Linked DNA regions of Homo sapiens: regions 2, 3, 4, 5, 6 and 7 are each linked to region 1. Evidence: promoter capture Hi-C in 16 types of primary human blood cells and fetal thymus (Javierre and others, 2016). All regions are on one chromosome and are shown on one strand. Each heading gives the region's core, a stretch centred on a gene start or on the middle of the fragment in contact. The rest is flanking DNA. Distances are from core to core; before and after follow the strand shown. Region 1 holds the start of THBS1 (thrombospondin 1). Region 2 overlaps LINC02694 (long intergenic non-protein coding RNA 2694). Region 3 has its middle 31 kb from the start of LINC02694. Region 4 has its middle 110 kb from the start of LINC02694. Region 5 has its middle 130 kb from the start of LINC02694. Region 6 has its middle 170 kb from the start of LINC02694. Region 7 has its middle 180 kb from the start of LINC02694.

Region 1 (2,547 bases), core at 13-2,512:
CTATGCCCTGGCCTCGGAGCGAGCCCGATAGCGCTGGATCACAGCAGAGGGAGCGAGGCGGCTGACGTCCCATCCCGAAGAGATGAATGGAATTCCAGGAAGCTAGAGTCATGCTGGCTTGGGACAGTGGCTTGGAGACCAGACTTCAATGACAGAAGCACTAGGCAGCGGCACTCATGGCAATGTGTGCACCCACAGAAATGTAACCCACACCTCGGGTTCAGGAGCCGAAAAATGAAAAGAACGTTTAGGGAGGAAAAAGGGAAATACAATAATAGGCAGAGAGTAATTTATTACTCTATGGGTCTGCTCTGTAAATAGCTGAAGACTCTGGAGCCAGATGGTTCTGCAAATTCTCCAAACAGGAGTCACGTTAAGAAGCACGAGTGGGCACAAAAACTGTTTTTCAAGACACAATTTCAATTTGGCTTGTGGAAACTGGATACGAGTAAGTTTCCTTAAAATTCGAGTAGAAAGCAGCTGTCCTCCCCGGGCCCCTTGATGAGAATACGCACACCGCCCCCAAGCGGCCGGCCGAGGGAGCGCCGCGGCAGCGGGAGAGGCGTCTCTGTGGGCCCCCTGGCAGCCGCGGCAGGAAAGGGCCCGAAGGCAGCGAAGGCGAACGCGGCGCACCAACCTGCCGGCCCCGCCGACGCCGCGCTCACCTCCCTCCGGGGCGGGCGTGGGGCCAGCTCAGGACAGGCGCTCGGGGGACGCGTGTCCTCACCCCACGGGGACGGTGGAGGAGAGTCAGCGAGGGCCCGAGGGGCAGGTACTTTAACGAATGGCTCTCTTGGTGTCCCCTGCGCCCCGTCGGCCCATTTTTCTTTTTACAAAACGGGCCCAGTCTCTAGTATCCACCTCTCGCCATCAACCAGGCATTCCGGGAGATCAGCTCGCCCGAAAGCCCCTGCGCCACCCCGCGGGCCCTCCTAGGTGGTCTCCCCAGCCCCGTCCCTTTTCGGGATGCTTGCTGATCACCCCGAGCCCGCGTGGCGCAAGAGTACGAGCGCCGAGCCCGTGCGCGCCAAGGCTGCGTGGGCGGGCACCGACTTTTCTGAGAAGTTCTAGTGCTCCCAAGCCCCGACCCCCGCCCCCTTCACTTTCTAGCTGGAAAGTTGCGCGCCAGGCAGCGGGGGGCGGAGAGAGGAGCCCAGACTGGCCCCCACCTCCCGCTTCCTGCCCGGCCGCCGCCCATTGGCCGGAGGAATCCCCAGGAATGCGAGCGCCCCTTTAAAAGCGCGCGGCTCCTCCGCCTTGCCAGCCGCTGCGCCCGAGCTGGCCTGCGAGTTCAGGGCTCCTGTCGCTCTCCAGGAGCAACCTCTACTCCGGACGCACAGGCATTCCCCGCGCCCCTCCAGCCCTCGCCGCCCTCGCCACCGCTCCCGGCCGCCGCGCTCCGGTACACACAGGTAAGTCGCCCCCGGCGGCCGCCGAGGACCAAAGCTGCCCGGGACATCCACCTGGAGCGCTGAGGCTTCAGTCCCTCTGGTGGACCCCGGAACCTACACTCTCCCCGCTCGCCTACCCCAGCCCGCTCCTCTCAGCCGCTGGAGGACTCTTCAGGGCAAGGCTCCAGAGCCATCCTCTCCAGCCTTGAGGTTCACAAACCAACTCATCAGGACACCCCAAGATTTCCTTACTCTCTGAAGTCCTCCTTAAGCCTTTGTATCAGCACTCCAGGGAAGAGTCTGTACTTCCCCTGCCCTCCCTGCAACCCCAAACTACAGTTCCTGATCTTGCTCACCTTCGACTTCCCAAAAGCCCCCAAATTGTTGGTCTTGCGCCCCCCACACTTTAAAACCAGCATCTCTTTCCTCCACCTCTCTCTCTCTCTCTCTCTCTCTCTCTCATGCTCTCTGGAAAGTAATCCTGTTGTCCTTCATTTCAGCAAACGCGGGGTCAAAGAGGGATGGTCCCGGCCCTGTCCCCATGCCCAGCCCCGTTTCTGCGCACCGTCCCTCCCTGCCTAGCTGATCTCTGACCCTCGGCTCTTGTGCTTCCTGCTACAGGATCCCTGCTGGGCACCAACAGCTCCACCATGGGGCTGGCCTGGGGACTAGGCGTCCTGTTCCTGATGCATGTGTGTGGCACCAACCGCATTCCAGGTGAGTTTGTGTGGCACCTTTAGGGGAAGGAGGGACAAGGAAGAGGTGCTGGCTATCCCAGGTGTGCCCCCTCACGTGCTGTCCTCTCCCTCTTGAGCCTGACTGGACATCAGGACGCAGCTTCACTCTGATCCTGGTATTTATTCACCTCTTTCAGTGGTTGCCAGGAGTTTTCACCCCAACCCTTTGTCTCCACCCCTAAGGACTCAGCCCCCTACTGCTGGTCCCAGCCTAGAAAGCTCACTTTGTGTTCTCTCCTGTCTAACAGAGTCTGGCGGAGACAACAGCGTGTTTGACATCTTTGAACTCACCGGGGCCGCCCGCAAGGGGTCTGGGCGCCGACTGGTGAAGGGCCCCGACCCTTCCAGCCCAGCTTTCCGCATCGAGGATGCCAACCTGATCCCCCCTGTGCCTGATGACAAGTTCCAAGACCTGGTGG
Region 2 (2,547 bases), core at 32-2,531, 880 kb before region 1:
TGGGGCTGGCAAGTTGATACAAGCTCCAGCTCATGTCTTCAGACAATGCTGGGTCCAAGGAAATGCATGGATCTCCTGCATTACAAAGTTTGACTCCAAGAGAAGCCCAGAAGTGGCTTCCAGCCCCTCCTACCTAACTGTGCCCCGCCGTTCACCACTTCCTGTCTTCCTGCGACCCAGTGACAGATGTGTCTGTGGGGGCTGCTACTTGGGAAAGTCCACCAGGAGGAGAGCATGCCAATCTCTCCTCTCAGATCCTCTGGGGGTTACTTTCCCCACCCAAACTAGGCCTTGATGTCAAGGCCTAGTTACAGGGATGTCAAACTAGGAGGTTGATGTCGGTGTGGTGTGTAAGATGTTGGGGAGAAGCTGCAGGTGCCTTCTTACCAGCTCTTCCTGAAAACTTGTCTCTCCCTCTCCTTGTTAGTCTGTTTTATAACTCACACTCCAGCCGGGGGGAAGTAAAGGAGCTTATCCCGTTCACAGATCCTGTAACCCATGGTGGTTATTACCTCATAGCTGGTGCAGTGTTCTTTGAGCCTAGCAGTTTGGTTTAGACTCAAGTGTCTATTCTTTGCAGTCTTTCTGGGGTTGGTAGCAGAGAAAGAGAAGAGAACAGGTAATTCGATCACTCAGGTTATTCGTGTGTAAAAGTTGAAGCCCTACCACAAACGTATGAGTGGATGTTATAGTGTAATAACCTGGACATTGCCAAGACAGCTTCCTCAGGGCTTTTGTTTCCTCAAGCCTACCTGAAGGCTCTCTTCTCAGTCACGGGGGATGGAATTGTTTCATCCCTGGCTTGCTCTGGGCCTCAGTTTCCCTATTCCAGGATAGTTTCCCTATTCCCTATTCTGCATCATAAAAAAAAAAATACACTCCTGATAGAAGTCGGTTGATGCTTTTGGCCTGCAGCCTCCTTAAGGTTAATAGTCCACATAATTTCCTCAGGGGCCCTGGCTGGCCTGTTGTGGGTGTACCCATGAAGTATCTTGATTTGCTATGATAGGAGCCACCTTGGCTTCCTGTGGAGATAAGCCCTGCCCCTCGTTCCCACTTTAAGCTTGAAAAGTCCCTTATCCAACTTTGGAATGGGAACTAGAAAGACTAAGCAGTGTCTCTCAGGGGTTCCTTCTGGGGTCACTCAGAAGAGGAGAACCAAGCAGTCTTGGCGGAGAGACACCTGAAGTTGGTCACTCGGCACATTACCAGGGGCTCAGCAATGACCAGCCTGCAACCATCCTGCCTTTCCCCAGGGGTCTGGGCTCCAGCCATGGAGGGTGGACTGGAGACTCCTTTGCCTTTCAACACTGTCTGGCCTGTCTCGGGTCCGGCACGTCTTTTCTCTACTGATTTTGTGGCTGTGGTTAACTTAGCTAACCTTTCAGTGAAATAATGTCTAGTGGCATTCCTTTACATTTTCCATGTGCTGTTTTTTCCATAACTCCATTTTCTTCAGGGCTGAGTTTGGGTCTTCATTTTTCCACCCACAGGCCTAGTTAAGCTTGGTCTTGTGCTCCAACTTACCTGCCCCAGACTTCTTGGATGGACATTGTCAATCTGGTCATATTGAGAGTGAAACTGCCACCTAGTGGTCACTGGAGGTGTGCCTGCCTTTTCATGAGCTCTCTTGCTGCTGGTTACCGGAAACATCAGTTGATGGTTTTCTTCTAAGCTAACTCAGAAGCTGTGATGTGAATCAGACCAAACAATTTATCTGCTTCAAATCCATATTGTAAAGAGGTTTAATATAAAGACATATTTTCAAATCAAAATAAATAATGAAGCAAAAATCAGATAGACATGTACTCCTTTGCCAAACTGGAACACAATTTTTCTTTCTTTGACTAAATTTCAATTCAAATGAAGTCCTACAAAGACAAAACAAATCAACTAACAAACAGCCCAACAAAAACACCTAAACCAAACAGCCCAGCAAAAAGCGGAATGGTCATTTTCATTTATCCAACACAAATCTACTTAGTGCTGGGCTGGTTCTGGTAGGCAACCAAGTGTTTAGTGGATACCCGAGCAGCTCATTCTAATACAACATGGCAACTTAAAATCAGGTGAAGAAATGCAGTGGGAGAAAACAAAGAGGAATTGGTAACTCTGCAGAGCAGTGACATTTGAATAGACTTGTCAAGGAAGACTAGATTTAGTCAGGCAGGAGGGAGAGAGGGCAGGGAGGGAATTCTACCTGACTAAGGAAGAGCATGTGCAAGGCCTAGGGGAATGGAAGAGAAGAATGAGTTCAGGTGTCTGGAAGAGGTTGTCTTAGTAGGTTTCCTGTTGCTGTAACAGAATACTACAGAGTGGGTAATTTATAATGAAGAGAAATTTATTTAGTGTATGGTTTTGGAGGCTGGGAAGTCCAAGAGCATGGTGCTGTCCTCCAGGAAGGGTCATTCCATGGCAGGGAGGCAGAAGGGCAAGAGAGGGAGTGTGAGAAAGAGAGACAGAGACAGAGAGGGAGGGAGGGAGGAAAAGGGGGCCAGACTCCCAAGATCGCTCACTCACTTCTGTGATGACAGCATGAGTCTATTC
Region 3 (2,547 bases), core at 22-2,521, 850 kb before region 1:
CCCTTAAATTGTATCTACATTGACTGGGAGACCCAATAGGTATGTATCTAAAGATTAAACACACATTTGGATTTTAGGGTTTAAAAAATGAACTAGAAATGATCCATGCTCTCTATAAGCTTTGGGTTAGTTAGGGAGTTGACTCAGATTCATGACCGCAGAAGGTGGCATGTCACACACGGTGCTGAAAGGTACTACTTAATGCTGCTCAATGAAGCTATGGCAGCTAAGGGACAGGAACCTTTCAATTACACTGCAGTGATTGGGGAAGTTTCTATGGAAGAGCCATTTGAGATAAATTTGATTTAGATTACCAAAGAGAATAGGAAAGGAAACTCCAGGGCAGAAAGAATGCTAGGCATAAAGGTGCAGAGGCCAGAATGCTCTAGCACATCTTGGGAAGTGTGATTTGACTAGTTTGCCGAGGAGGATGTGCTTTGGGAAGTAGTGAGATAGAGGTTTAGAAGGAGATAAAAGGGAATTTTTTTATTTTTGAGACACAGGAACAGTGACAGGCATATACTGTCCCTTCTTTTGTAGGGTGGGGCTAGATCGGAAGAGCCCCTGGAGATTTGTCCCTTTTGTTTGCTCTTCTTTCTTACTGCATGAAGGAAAAATGAATCTAAGGCTTCGAGAACCTTGGAATTCACTATATTTAACCATAGAAGACTTCCCTGTACCTATGGGGAAGAGAAAACTTCAGGCTGCACAAATAGAGCACTCTCTCATGCTCGTGATAATGTATGTTGAGAACTTTCTTTGGAAAAGTCTTGGACGGAGGTGGTATTGGAGCTGGGTATCCCATATGCAGTTGTCCTCACACAGCGTGCTCTTGATTACCAGCTTTGTCCACAATGATGCCATGCATACATGTTGGCATGGACATACAGAATGGGTTTTCAGCACTGCTGGCTTACAATTGGCTGCCAGTCAAATTCACAATCCACCTCGTGCACAAGCAGCTTCACAAATCTCAGACAGAACAGCTTTGTACATACTGCATCACCTTGAAAGAGAAATGTACCATTTATGGTCTGTCTTGGCTTAAGTTCTTGGCAGTTTAGGGCCGTTTTCATTGGAGACAGGTAACATGCGGCTGTGGCCGTTAGAAGAAGTCTGCTTTTCCATTCTGATCCATGAAGGATGCCACGGAACACTGTGGAATTGGATATGACCTCTTTAAGTGCATGACTATGTGATTATTTCCTTCAACTTGGAGGCCTTTTGTTTATTAAAGAAACTTGCCTACCCCTTAACACAGGAAAATTCTTAATTTACAAAATTGCCCTTGGAAAACTCGTGCTTTCTGCAAAGGATAAGGAAATGAGCTGTTTTCTCCTAGTTTCTGTCTTTGATTGCTTTATGATGTTGGCAGTGATGAGCAGAGGGCCACATGAGTTATTTTCTCCACAAGGAAAGGTCTCTGTGAGGCATACAGATCCTTGGGTGGGGTTTCCAGACATACTACCTGGGTTTCCTTCAAAGCAAAACTCGGGCATCCAGGGAGGTCAGTCTCCTTACCCCCGCACAAACCACAAATACTTCCCTACCTGTATATGTAATTTTTTTCTGATGAAAATACTCTCAGCCACATTTCACCTTTCATGCTCCAAATCCCATATTATCCCCATTATGAAGCACCCACTGGTTATTTCAGCCCACGTGGATGGCCTTCGCACTGGGATCCTACGGCCTTACACTCACTCCCCTAAAATGGTTTTATTCCTATTGGGTTATTTCCTTGACCAGGTAGCAAACCTTTTAGGCACAGGTTCTTGACAGATTGAATTGACAACAATTGAGAAGGAAGGCGACAAATCGTAGCTTTGTAAGAGCACAGCAATAGCATTTACACACTTGTTTTATTTCTAGGAAGAAACATAAGTAGAGAAGGCTTTGCAAAAACTCTTGCCATTAGGTGAACGTCATCAAATGGTTATTAGAAGAGGGTGGCCTACAGCACTGTATTCTGGCTTTGGAAGTGGGTGATTTGCCTTTCCCCAACACCTCTCTTAGAAAAAACAAACATGGAGTGGCTGAAGCCACAGTTGGCTGAGGCTAAGTTTCTGAGGGATTGACTGGTGAGGAGATGGGGCCAGCCTTGCACAAGGTGGGTCTTAGAACTGGGCCAGAGCCAGGGTGGGAGTGGAGGAGGTTGCTTTCATGTAATTTTCTTCGCCTGTAAGTCTGGAATTCTGCAAATTTTCATAGCCAGTTTTGAGGTCTTTTTACTTTAAGTCAGATCAAAGGATAAAGGAACTTAGGTTAGAGTCAATTTACTGATGAACTAATTTAAGTTGCAGAGGCACAGATACTGTGTATCTCTGTCTTTCCTCCCCACCATCCCTATAAAGTCCTTTTAGTCATATATGTATAAGGAAACGCATTTAAGGAGGGAAAACACCTGGAGATGCACATCTAATCAAGCTTCCCATATCCCGCTCTTCCTCTTTTATCTCTCATATACATAGTCTAATTTGTATCTGCCTATTTTTCTTTCTTTAAGCCCAAAATGTAGGGCTACCAGGGCATTAGAAGTTATCATTT
Region 4 (2,547 bases), core at 14-2,513, 770 kb before region 1:
ACCAAGAGAATGGTGTGAGGCCCTGGAAAACCAGTAAAGAAAATGCTTCAAGGAGCACATGGACATGTGACCAACTATGTTAAGTGTTGCTGAGAGAGTAAGAAAGATGAGATTTAAGAACTGACTGCTATTTTTAGCAATGAGTGGGTCATTAGTGAAATTAATAAGAGCACTTTAGATGGAGTCGTGGGGGTGACTGGAGTTGATTAAAAAAATGATGGAACAAGAAAAGTGGTAGCGATAGAGTGTGAATATACACAATTCTTTTGAGGATGTTTGCCTTTAGAGGAAAGTAAAGAAAAAGAGCAGTAGCTAGAAAGTAGTAGAATAAAAAGAGTTTTTTTAAAAAAAAAATTGAAAGCAATAAATGCAAGCATAATTGTCTGCAGATGGGAAAGATCCAGTAGTGAGGAAATAATCGACGATGAAACAGAAATGCTGCTCTCGAATAGGTGAGAAGAAATGGATAAATGTGTGCGGTCATGAAAATGTCAATTAACTCTGAGTGGATTCTAAATAGAATCTTCCATCTTATACCAGAGAACTGTTCCCTGCTTGAGGAAATCAATTTGCTCTTTTTAGCATTATTATGAATTAATAGTCAACTCATGATTTAAAACCATTGGCAGGTCTGTTGTATTTCGTCAGTCAGCTTGCTCCTCTATTCTTTACAACCATTTCACTCTGTCCCACTTGCCTTCAATCTCTGACTGGTTCTACTGACCAAGGTCAACAGATGACCTACTTCAGAAAGAGAAACAATCAGAAGTGAACTCCACGAAATTTCTGTGACTAAATCTACAAACCAGACCTTAATCTACAAGCCTATTTTCTTGTTGCTGGAAACTACAAGCTCCTTTTTTTCTATTACATTGGGTAAGTTCTTCCTCTTTCTCTCCAAGGTGAATGCCCCCATCTGTCTCCAGTCATTGTCACCTTCCTCAGTCATTGTCCTATGAATTGTGTCCTCTCTTTCTTGTATTTATAACATGTCTTCTTCTACTGACCCCTTTTCATCAGAGTCTAGACACACTCAGGCCTCTCCCAGCTTGTTTCTCGTTGGCTGGATAAAGACTGGTCTTTTTTATCCTACTTAAATGAGGTCTTTTTTTCTACCTTGGGGGTCTTGATCTCTATTTTTATCTCAGATCAGGGCAGACTAGTAGTGACTTTTGGATATATCTAACACATACCTTTGCCTTTAGGCAGTGCTCTATCTGGACTAGTTGAAATTAAAGATCTCTAAATTGTACGTAGTATAGGAAGATATTTTTTAATGTCCTCCACCATGGGAGATCCATTTCAGTGTATACTTGGTGCAAAAGTAGATTTCCTAATATTTGATCTTAATTCTTCAGTTCAGTTTGGATTCAAGCGCAGCTTTTCTTGGTTCCAGGCAAAATGGGTAATGGTTGGCTTCTTTTCTCTGTCGAAAGACTCTTCTAAGATGAGAACAATTCACAAATCAACTTTAGCCTTCTTGAGGATAAAGTTTAAAAAGTGCCTGTTGCAATAAGCCCCCTTTCCTAAGATGAGTTTTCTATGGAGGAGTCAAGCTGTGCAAGATTAAAAATGCATGATGCTTAGGGAATTTTGAAGTCTTCTTTCCATTTAAAAAATGTATATAAAAAACAACTTCAATCTAAGTCATGTTTCAACTATGTCCTGAAAGACTGAGAAGTGTTGTTTTCATGGAAAATTACTTATTACAGAAAAGATTTTTGTAGCTATATTATAATTTGTGGTAGGCAGAGATGTTTCCCAAGGGCCCTTTGATTTAAGACTGCAATAATGGATGAAACTCTGATATCTGAGATCACATTCTCTAGAGTGTGAGCTTCATTTCCAAGGTACATAGACTTCCTCTAATTCTGCTGCCAGAACTATTTCAATGGATGTTTTGGAGTTCTAACTGTAGAGGAGTGGGGCAGGAAAGACAGAGGCATGCAGGGGAGTGGTGGGGAATGAGTTAAAGCCATGTCTGTAACTGTCCTTTTCTGTTATCTGACCCCCTGTTTTTGTTTAATTCAATCAACTTCAACAGGCCCCAGACACTCTGAACATAAGGTAGAGCCTAAACAAAACATTTTCTATGCGCAGGAAGCTACCAAAATAGCTTCTGCAAGGTCTATAAAGGGCATTTAGTAAAACACAAAGTAAACAGGCACATAATGAAAGGCTGATGGTGGCTATGCTGATGAAAATGACAGAAAGAAAGAAGTAAGTTTCTCCTGGTCGAAATTCAGCTTCAAATATTGGACTCCTTATGGATGAAGCAGCCAGTAGCTGATGGAAAGGACAGAAAGAAAGGAATAAGTTCTTCCTAGTCAAGATTCAGCTTCAAAAAATGGTCTTATGTACAAAGCAGCCAGTACCATTCCGTTGGAGCTGGCTTGTCACTTAACCTTTCTAGGCTTCAGCTTTTCAATAAAAGGAGGAGATTAGACCAATGCACCTTTCAACACTAATTCTCTAGGATTCTCATGTGCAGGTGAACCCTACATAGAGGTGATGATGGAAATAAAAATATATAGAATTGATCCATTA
Region 5 (2,547 bases), core at 14-2,513, 750 kb before region 1:
TTTTACCCTGTGCACGAATCTCGCTTCTCCATCTTATTGAAAGATGAAAGCATAAGATGGGACATGAGGCAGAAGACAGGGTTTTGGTATCCAGTTCTGGGGCTTGAGGACATTTTAAGCCTCAATTTTATGTATAAAATGGCAACAAAGACTTCTATTTGTCACCATCATTGAAAATAATCAGATGAGATAATGAATTAAAAGTGCTTTGTACATCAAAAAGCCCTGATTAAACAAACACTACTTCTAAACAACTTGATGAATACAACTCCTACTAATATAGACAGGCTAGAAGCAAACTTTAAGCATAGATCTAAATTTTCAAGGAATGGAAAGTGGCTCAATCTTAAGTATCTTTTCACATGACTTGCTCTCTGTTTGGACATTTCCGAGAACTGAAAGTTACCATGTTGCTAGAAACTCATACAGTCATTGGAGGTGTTCTTGGTGCTGAGTGATAGAGCCACTGGGGGTGTTATTTCCCAACAGAATTTCCATTGTCTGCTGAATTTGTTTTTGTTGGCTTGACTCTTCTATTGAAATCTCCCTGATATCCTGTTATTAGGAAACTTGGGGATTATTTTCCCTTCTGTAAAATGGGGATAATATCCCCTAGGGTTTTTGGAAGATTTACGATGAGATATTCTCTGTAAAGTACTTACGATAAAACGTTGTCCACAATATGTATATAATAAATGTTAACTATTACTATTATTGCTGTTATTACTTTGATTACAATTATTGGGTGAATGACAAATTGTAATGGTCACTTTTCTCCCTTTGACCAGTCATTGACTAAATTAAGCTTCAAGTGCTTTTGGAAGGAAGAATATGTGAGATATCTAAGAAAAGTTGATAAAATGTTATCTTCTTTGATAATAGAATGACCAATCGTTGACTTTTTTTTTTTTCCTTCTTTTGAATGACAGAGAAATGCCAGCTCCCTGTAAACATGAGAAAGCCCAGATGAAATAAATAAGGTGCTTCACATTCTGCCTCTCAGCCACATGCTCTGGGCAAGAGATTCTAATTCTTCAGAATAGCCACTTCCCAAGTTCAAATGGGGCCATCCTTCTTCTCTGGCACTGGCAGTGAGTGCTGGGGCAGTCTGTATCATGTTATGGCAAATTACCTTGAGGTCACAAGCCAATTTTTTGTTCCTATAGAAACATTGACTGTGAGAAGATAATGGCCAATGTGTTTTAAGCACTTTGTATTTGCAAGGGACTGCTCTAAGTACTTGATAAACATCAACTTCTTTAATCCTCACAACTCTATGAGGTAGGGATAATTAGCATCATTTTCCAGGTAAGGAAACTGAGGCCCAAAGATGTTAAGTCATCCAGACAGTAAATGGTTGTGTCAGGATTAATGCACAAGCACCTTCATTCTTGACCATTACCCTCTGAAAAAAGGGCTAAGGTGGAGAGTGTGGCTCTGGGGCAGGGCAACTCTAAACAGGAAACATGCTCCTTCACAAATGTGCTGGATTCTACCTCTTTCAGTTAAAGATAAAAGGAACCTTTACGTGTGAACTCAGTCTTCTCTCCAGGGTCTTTAGCTGACAGAGTGCCATCATTTTGCATACAGATATAACTCTTATTGTCTGTGGCTTCCATCTTTTACTTCAGACTATATGTCTGGGTTGAGTGGTTCAAATAATGGCAGATTATAAAGTGCTTTCATTTATTCCAACTCTGTGAAATAAGAATTTCATAGTGAGAAGCTTCCCAGAGACAGAGAGAGAAGAAACTTGTGTATGTCACAGAGCTAGTGACATAACTGGGGTTTGAACCCCTATTTCAAACTCCTATCTCTACACCATAAGAAACAATCCCTCGTCAATCTGGGGGTTGTGGGTGGTGTCACCAGATTATAAGGAAAAGCTGCCTGTCAGGTCAAGAGTAGTGTTTACATTGGTGAAACCCCGTCTCTACTAAGAATACAAAAATTAGCTGGGTGTGGTGGCACGCACCTGTAGTCCCAGCTACTTGGGAGGTTGAGGCAGAAGAATTGTTTGAACCCAGGAGGCAGAGGTTGCAGTGAGCTGAGATTGCACCAGTGCACTCCAATCTGAGTGACAGAGTGAGACTCCGTCTCAAAAAAAAAAAAAAAAAGTTTCATCTAGTAGCTACAATGGTTCCCAGATTGCATATTACTAAGTGATAATTCGAATGAATGAATGAATTTTATTCTAATAGTAATTTGAATTTAACTGTGAAATAATAAAGGTGCATTTCAAAATTTAAAAAAATCAGGCTCTGAAACCTGCCCCAGGTGCCTCTATGTGGAAGGACCCTTGCTCTGCTCATCACATTCCAGTTTCCTTGACCAGGTGCCTTCTAAGGGGTGAAAGTGGAGGAGAAAGGGGGGAGCCTCATTTTGCTGGGATTCTGACACCCTTCACTGAGCCCCCACAACTATCACCCACCCCAGCCCAGCTGGCACTACACCTACCTTGCTCAGCCCCACCTAATGGCTTTAGCACTGAAGTGGTCAGGAAATAGACGTGGCTAGTATTAAAGTCTAAACAACAGCTTTACCGGA
Region 6 (2,547 bases), core at 17-2,516, 720 kb before region 1:
CTCAGGGGCTCATGAACATTTTTCCCGTTGTTTCTGGATCATCTGGGTTGATTGTGCAAGACAGTTACTTTCCTGTTATGCAGTCACCCAGAAACAGAAGCAGAAGCGGCACACACTCTGTGATCTTTCCCACTTCCTTTCAGCCAATGCTATATTGAACTGTTCCTGAAATCACTCCAAACAACTGCCAATGGTGTTTGCATCTCTTCCTATCCCAAGTTCCCACAATCCCCAGCAGGGGTGTTGATGGTGCCCACAGCCTTTCCTCTTCACCTTGGTAATATCAGGTGAGTAAAACTGGCCCTCTATGCCCATTGTCTCCACCACACCAGCCATTCCTGAGATGTGGAATTCTATAGAAAGCATGTGGGTCACCAGCTGGTTTTAATTAATTGAAAACAATTCTGACTACCTGTTCTGTTCTGGGAATTGTGCTGGGTGTTTGACCCAATATGGAGAGGGGAGGCCCTTCCTGGCAAGAAAGCTGTTCATTTATTCAATTCTTTATTCATTTCACAGTTATCAGCTGCTTACCACATGCCAGATGGTGTTCTAGCTGCTGAGGAATACAGCAGTAAACAAAACCCAAAAAGTTGATTTTCTCATAGAGCTTACATTCTAGTGTGGGAAGAGAAATGATAAACAATAAATATAAATGAGTAAGATATATCAGGTTATGGTGGTCTTTCTGATGTGTCAATTTGAACAGACTATAGCCTTTAATTATCCAATCCAACACAAATCTAGATGTTGCTGTGAAGGTATTTTATAGATGTAATTTAAGTCCATGATCACTTGATTTTAAGAGAGATTATCCTGGAGAATCTGAGTGAGTCTGATTCAGTCAGCTTGAAAGGCCTTAAAAGCAGGACTGAGGCTCCTCTTAGAGGAGAAATTCATGTGTAAGACAACAGATTCAGCCCATGCCCAGGAGTTCCAGCCTGCCCTTATGGTTGGCCTGACCTATGGATTTTGGACTTATTTATGCAGCTGCCACAATTGCCTAAGCCAATCTCTTGCAGCAAACTTCATGTCATCCTTTATTGGTTCTGGTTCTCTGGTTTAACCCCAACTGACTCAGTGCTATGAAGAAAAATAAAGCAGGAAAGGGGATAAACCTGGTTATGGAGTAGACATAAAGACAAAAAATTAAAGCACAATTCACTCTTGCTATCATGCCTTTATGGGTACAGTGGAAGTAGAAATTAATCTACTAGTATCACAAATTTCCTTTCTTCAAAGCAAAGATCCTAAAGCTCAAATCCTGTGGGATATTAAACAGGGAACTTTTTTTTCTGAGCCCTTTTCAATTTCTAATTTCTAAAATAGGAATGCCACCTTTATATGATTAAAATGTAAGTGAGATAAGACTATTATATATAAATTATCTAGCACCCTTCTTGGAACATAATAAACTATCTTCTATTTTTTATTACCTTCTTACTAATACCTGTGAACATGTCTGCTATATGAATATCATGGTAATTCAGCATTGTCTTTACATCATACGTATTCCCGTGTATCTGTGGCCAATTCATACCCAAGGCAGACAGATAGTTAAGCTCCTCAGTGCATGCATTTACTGGTAGAACGCAGGTTGATGAGCCTGGGAAGGTAATGAACTGGGAATTACATATGGATGAAGAAGGATTAGGCTTATCTATAAAAACCAGTCTACTCCATTATTCCCTATCATATTGAAACTTTTCTCAACTTTCTCTTAATTCTGTAGAGAAATATCTGGTACATCAAAATTTCTATTTAAATGTCTTCAAAGTAACCAAATTGATATATCAGTGAACAAGCACTCTTCCATTGCAAGGCTCCAGCTAAGATCTCATTGTCAAAGAACTTCAGACAGTTGGTAGGGAGAGATGAGATGGGGAGGAATGCTCTGTTATGTGAAATATTTCAGAACTGGAGTTTCTGGGCAAAGGAAATAACTGTCATTTTGGTACACGTTGGCATTGAGAAAATGCATAGAAGAGTAATTATCTGCTTGAAACACTCCACATGACTATGTACACCCTTCCTTTTTCTGATTAACTAGACTGGAAAACATATTTCCAGGGCTGTTTTGGCTTTGAGTAAGATGGTACAGTATTCATCCTTGTAGTTTATTTGGAATAGGAAGAACATCTAGCTTGTGGGGGTACATAAGGTGGTGTCTCCCAAGAGTCTCTTAAATAAAAAGAGGCACTCCAAGTCTGTAGTTCCTGGTTCTAGTTTAGCATTTTTGCTGAACAGCAAAGGATTACATTCCCACATCTTCTTGAAATAAAGGCTAGAATGAATCTTCAGTGATTCATTCACTCAAAAGCCATTCTTTTTCATTGGCTACTATGGGCTAACCATAGATCTCATGATAGGGCCACATCTGAACAACTAAGGCAAGTTCCTGTCTTTGTGGTTACTTTGCTAGTGGGAAGTTTAGATGGAATAAATAACATTTATAGAACACTTTCTATGTGCAAGCTCTCTGTCTAGGTAATTAAATGTGGAGCAGTCCAGCAATGGGTAACCTGTGTCCCTGCACATGGGAGGAAG
Region 7 (2,547 bases), core at 17-2,516, 700 kb before region 1:
AGGTCTGCGTGTGCCTCATCCTGGAGGCTTATTTGAAAACTGGAGAAAAAGATGTCTTCTCTAGTATCCATGCTGGGTTTCAAGGTGGGCTGGAATCTTCTCGTGAGAGTGCAGGGAAGTGAGAATGGAGAGAAAGGGGGTGTGCGTTGCCTCTTGGCTTGTTTTTCTAAGCACAAAATGAAACTTTTTTCCAGGCAACTTTTTCTTTTCTTTTTTTTTTTTTTTTTACAAAAATAATAATTTGAGACTCTTTCCCAGGGCAAAAATACACTGTGCAGTCTTTGTGCCCACAGCACCTGTAGAAGGGATTGAATTGAAGTTTTGTTCAAGGTGCTGAAAGTTTATGGTCCATTTAGCTGTGAAGCAGAGTTTAATGTTGGCAAACTTTTGTGTTTGTTTTAGTTTCTGAAAGTTGCTAACCATTTTCCCTTTCTTGGGGAGGAGAGCAGGCCTGGCAGGAAAGGCAGGGCCATCACTGGGGCAGGGTGGGCGGGGTGGGTAGTGTTTAGGTACAGAATCTTAATGGGCCAGTAGATATGTCTGCCTGATGCCTTTAGCACCACAGCCTGTTAGCCTGACCTGCTGGCACATGGAGTTAAGGCCGCAGAGGCTGAGGAAAGTGGGTGTTTTCGGAGCCCCTTCCTTCAGCAGTTTCATCCAGTGTGGATGCTGATGGACAGCTACAATCCCCAGAGCCAAGTGCACATTCCTGCAAAAGATAAACATTTGTCTATTTGCTCAACTCTGCTCTCACTTTGTTACCATCTAAGCCAGATCTATCATGCCCTCGATGCATTTGGCAGGAGGGAAAACAGATGGTCATAGACCTGGCTAAACAGTTCCTATTTCTGCAGCCCTGGCACTAGTAATTCTGGGTCTACTTGCAATTTTGTGTAAGACGCTAGATAAGAGGCCTAAAGCCCATCACCTGCCCTGGTCTATGCACTAGCAATAAGCAGATGTTACCTTGAGTCTGGAGTAACAACCAGACTCATTTGGCAATTCTGGAGGCAAATTGCTTGTCAGAAACACAAAAACAAATATTTCATAAACATAATAATCATGTGTCAAGGGTAAGTCTCATGTTCCTACCTCATTTCTTTGTCCTTTCCCCTAATTTCCATTTTCTCCAAGGTAATTCAGGACCCTGCTGCCTCTTGCCTAAATTAGGGCAAGAACTTTCTATCTCATCTCCTTGCCTCTAGACTCTCCCCACTCCTCCCTACTCCTTGCAAGTGCACCTCATTCCTGGCTACCATAGGCACAATCTTCTCTCTCCTTAGTGGGAAGAGATCACATCTGATTCAGCATGAGTACCTCAGCACTCAGCATGGTTACATCAGCACCCTGGTACATAGATGCTCAAATGATAGTTGTTATAAAAATGAATGCATAAATCAAGTGCTATAGTGTTGGGTTGGTACACATAGAATGTCTCTGTAAGTTCATTTTTAACTTCTCTATTTAAAGGAGGGATCATGGTTCAGAGGAAAGAGCACTAAAGTACGAGTCAGAAGACTTGGCTTTGCATGATAGCTGTGTCACCATATGCTAGCTGTCATGCTAAGTGCTTTGAATTCACTATCTCATCTCTTACAAATAACCTCTGAGATATATATATAATCTTCATATATGATATATATCATAGGTTACATGATATATGTATCATGTATCATATACATGAATAATACATATATATCATGTATCATGATATAATACATGAATTATGTATATATCATGTATCATAATATATGATATATATATATATATGTTATTCTTACTCAGTTTTAAGAGGAGTTAACTGAGACATAGCAGTTTTAGCAGACTTGCCTAAGGCACACAATTTAAGATTCTCAGGGACTCTTTGAGTTTCAAGCCCATTTGTTTAACTACTCTGCTAAACTGCCATGCAACCCTGGCCAAATTAGTAAGTCTTCAGACTCAGCCTCCTCCTCTGTAAAATGAGCAGCCTGAACTCTGCCGATTCTCTTTAAATCCTATACAGCTATTCTGTGAGTCTGCATTTCTGATTCCAAACATCCACAGAAACGTACTGTGAAACTCCAGTGAATTGTGACTTGTGTTATGAGTTGAGGGCAGGTCAGAGAACAGTAGCATTCCATTGGGAACTGGCACACATTTGCAGCCAACAGATGAAATCTACACTCCTGGCACAGAGCCAACCCTGCCCTCCATCCTAAAGCACACTTGCCTGGTGAGTCCATTTGGTCCTTTCCTGAATCCTGAACTGTCACATCTCCCTCATTGGGAAGGATAGTATGCAGGCCCGACTCCTTCATAGAGCATGGGTTGTTCATCTGTGAATGTAATTTGAGGAAAGTAAAGGCCCACCTGCCTGAGATGGCTGGAGGGCATTGTATTGTAGCAATGGTAGACCACATGTTATTAACTAGGGTTCTGATGACATCTTCCAGCTACACTCACTTGAGTCTCCTGTGACTACCACTCTTTCTCAGTTGTCATCTCTGTCTTTACTTTCTTTGTTTACACTTTAAATGTTGGATATTCCTAGGGCATAGTTCTCAG

What was found. The method cuts DNA at HindIII sites, captures the fragments that hold promoters and counts their contacts. A CHiCAGO score of 5 or more calls a contact.
Region 2: a contact is called between a fragment that was not itself captured here and the fragment with the promoter of THBS1 in region 1, in 3 of 17 cell types (megakaryocytes, endothelial precursors and total CD8 T cells). The highest score is 9.2, in megakaryocytes.
Region 3: a contact is called between a fragment that was not itself captured here and the fragment with the promoter of THBS1 in region 1, in 2 of 17 cell types (erythroblasts and M1 macrophages). The highest score is 5.1, in erythroblasts.
Region 4: a fragment that was not itself captured here is called in contact with the fragment with the promoter of THBS1 in region 1 in 7 of 17 cell types (M2 macrophages, erythroblasts, naive CD8 T cells and 4 more); the score reaches 11.3 in M2 macrophages.
Region 5: a fragment that was not itself captured here is called in contact with the fragment with the promoter of THBS1 in region 1 in 6 of 17 cell types (endothelial precursors, neutrophils, erythroblasts and 3 more); the score reaches 11.3 in endothelial precursors.
Region 6: a fragment that was not itself captured here is called in contact with the fragment with the promoter of THBS1 in region 1 in 1 of 17 cell types (M1 macrophages); the score reaches 5.5 in M1 macrophages.
Region 7: a fragment that was not itself captured here is called in contact with the fragment with the promoter of THBS1 in region 1 in 1 of 17 cell types (endothelial precursors); the score reaches 5.5 in endothelial precursors.

The regions. Positions count from the first base shown.
Region 1 is chr15:39,579,817-39,582,363 of GRCh38, forward strand. It overlaps THBS1 (thrombospondin 1), which reads left to right and starts at 1,263. Exons shown (of 22, transcript NM_003246.4): 1 at 1,263-1,412; 2 at 2,013-2,108; 3 at 2,377-2,547. The coding sequence starts at 2,042. LOC124903470 reads left to right here. Exons shown (of 1, transcript XM_047433405.1): 1 at 1-1,178. The coding sequence starts at 502. The coding sequence ends at 936. RefSeq lists an enhancer at 354-1,091 and silencers at 514-743, 754-803. The HindIII fragment of the contact is 3,699 bases long and covers 1-2,547 here.
Region 2 is chr15:38,698,251-38,700,797 of GRCh38, forward strand. It overlaps LINC02694 (long intergenic non-protein coding RNA 2694), which reads left to right. Exons shown (of 2, transcript NR_160786.1): 2 at 1-1,788. Among named protein-coding and RNA genes, the nearest start is that of LINC02694, 2.9 kb to the left of the region's middle. The HindIII fragment of the contact is 441 bases long and covers 1,062-1,502 here.
Region 3 is chr15:38,726,554-38,729,100 of GRCh38, forward strand. No RefSeq gene overlaps it. Among named protein-coding and RNA genes, the nearest start is that of LINC02694, 31 kb to the left of the region's middle. The HindIII fragment of the contact is 2,308 bases long and covers 118-2,425 here.
Region 4 is chr15:38,806,271-38,808,817 of GRCh38, forward strand. No RefSeq gene overlaps it. Among named protein-coding and RNA genes, the nearest start is that of LINC02694, 110 kb to the left of the region's middle. The HindIII fragment of the contact is 4,397 bases long and covers 1-2,547 here.
Region 5 is chr15:38,828,863-38,831,409 of GRCh38, forward strand. No RefSeq gene overlaps it. Among named protein-coding and RNA genes, the nearest start is that of LINC02694, 130 kb to the left of the region's middle. The HindIII fragment of the contact is 921 bases long and covers 804-1,724 here.
Region 6 is chr15:38,860,372-38,862,918 of GRCh38, forward strand. No RefSeq gene overlaps it. Among named protein-coding and RNA genes, the nearest start is that of LINC02694, 170 kb to the left of the region's middle. The HindIII fragment of the contact is 2,557 bases long and covers 1-2,545 here.
Region 7 is chr15:38,876,931-38,879,477 of GRCh38, forward strand. It overlaps a transcript of LOC105370777 not described here. Among named protein-coding and RNA genes, the nearest start is that of LINC02694, 180 kb to the left of the region's middle. The HindIII fragment of the contact is 4,354 bases long and covers 1-2,547 here.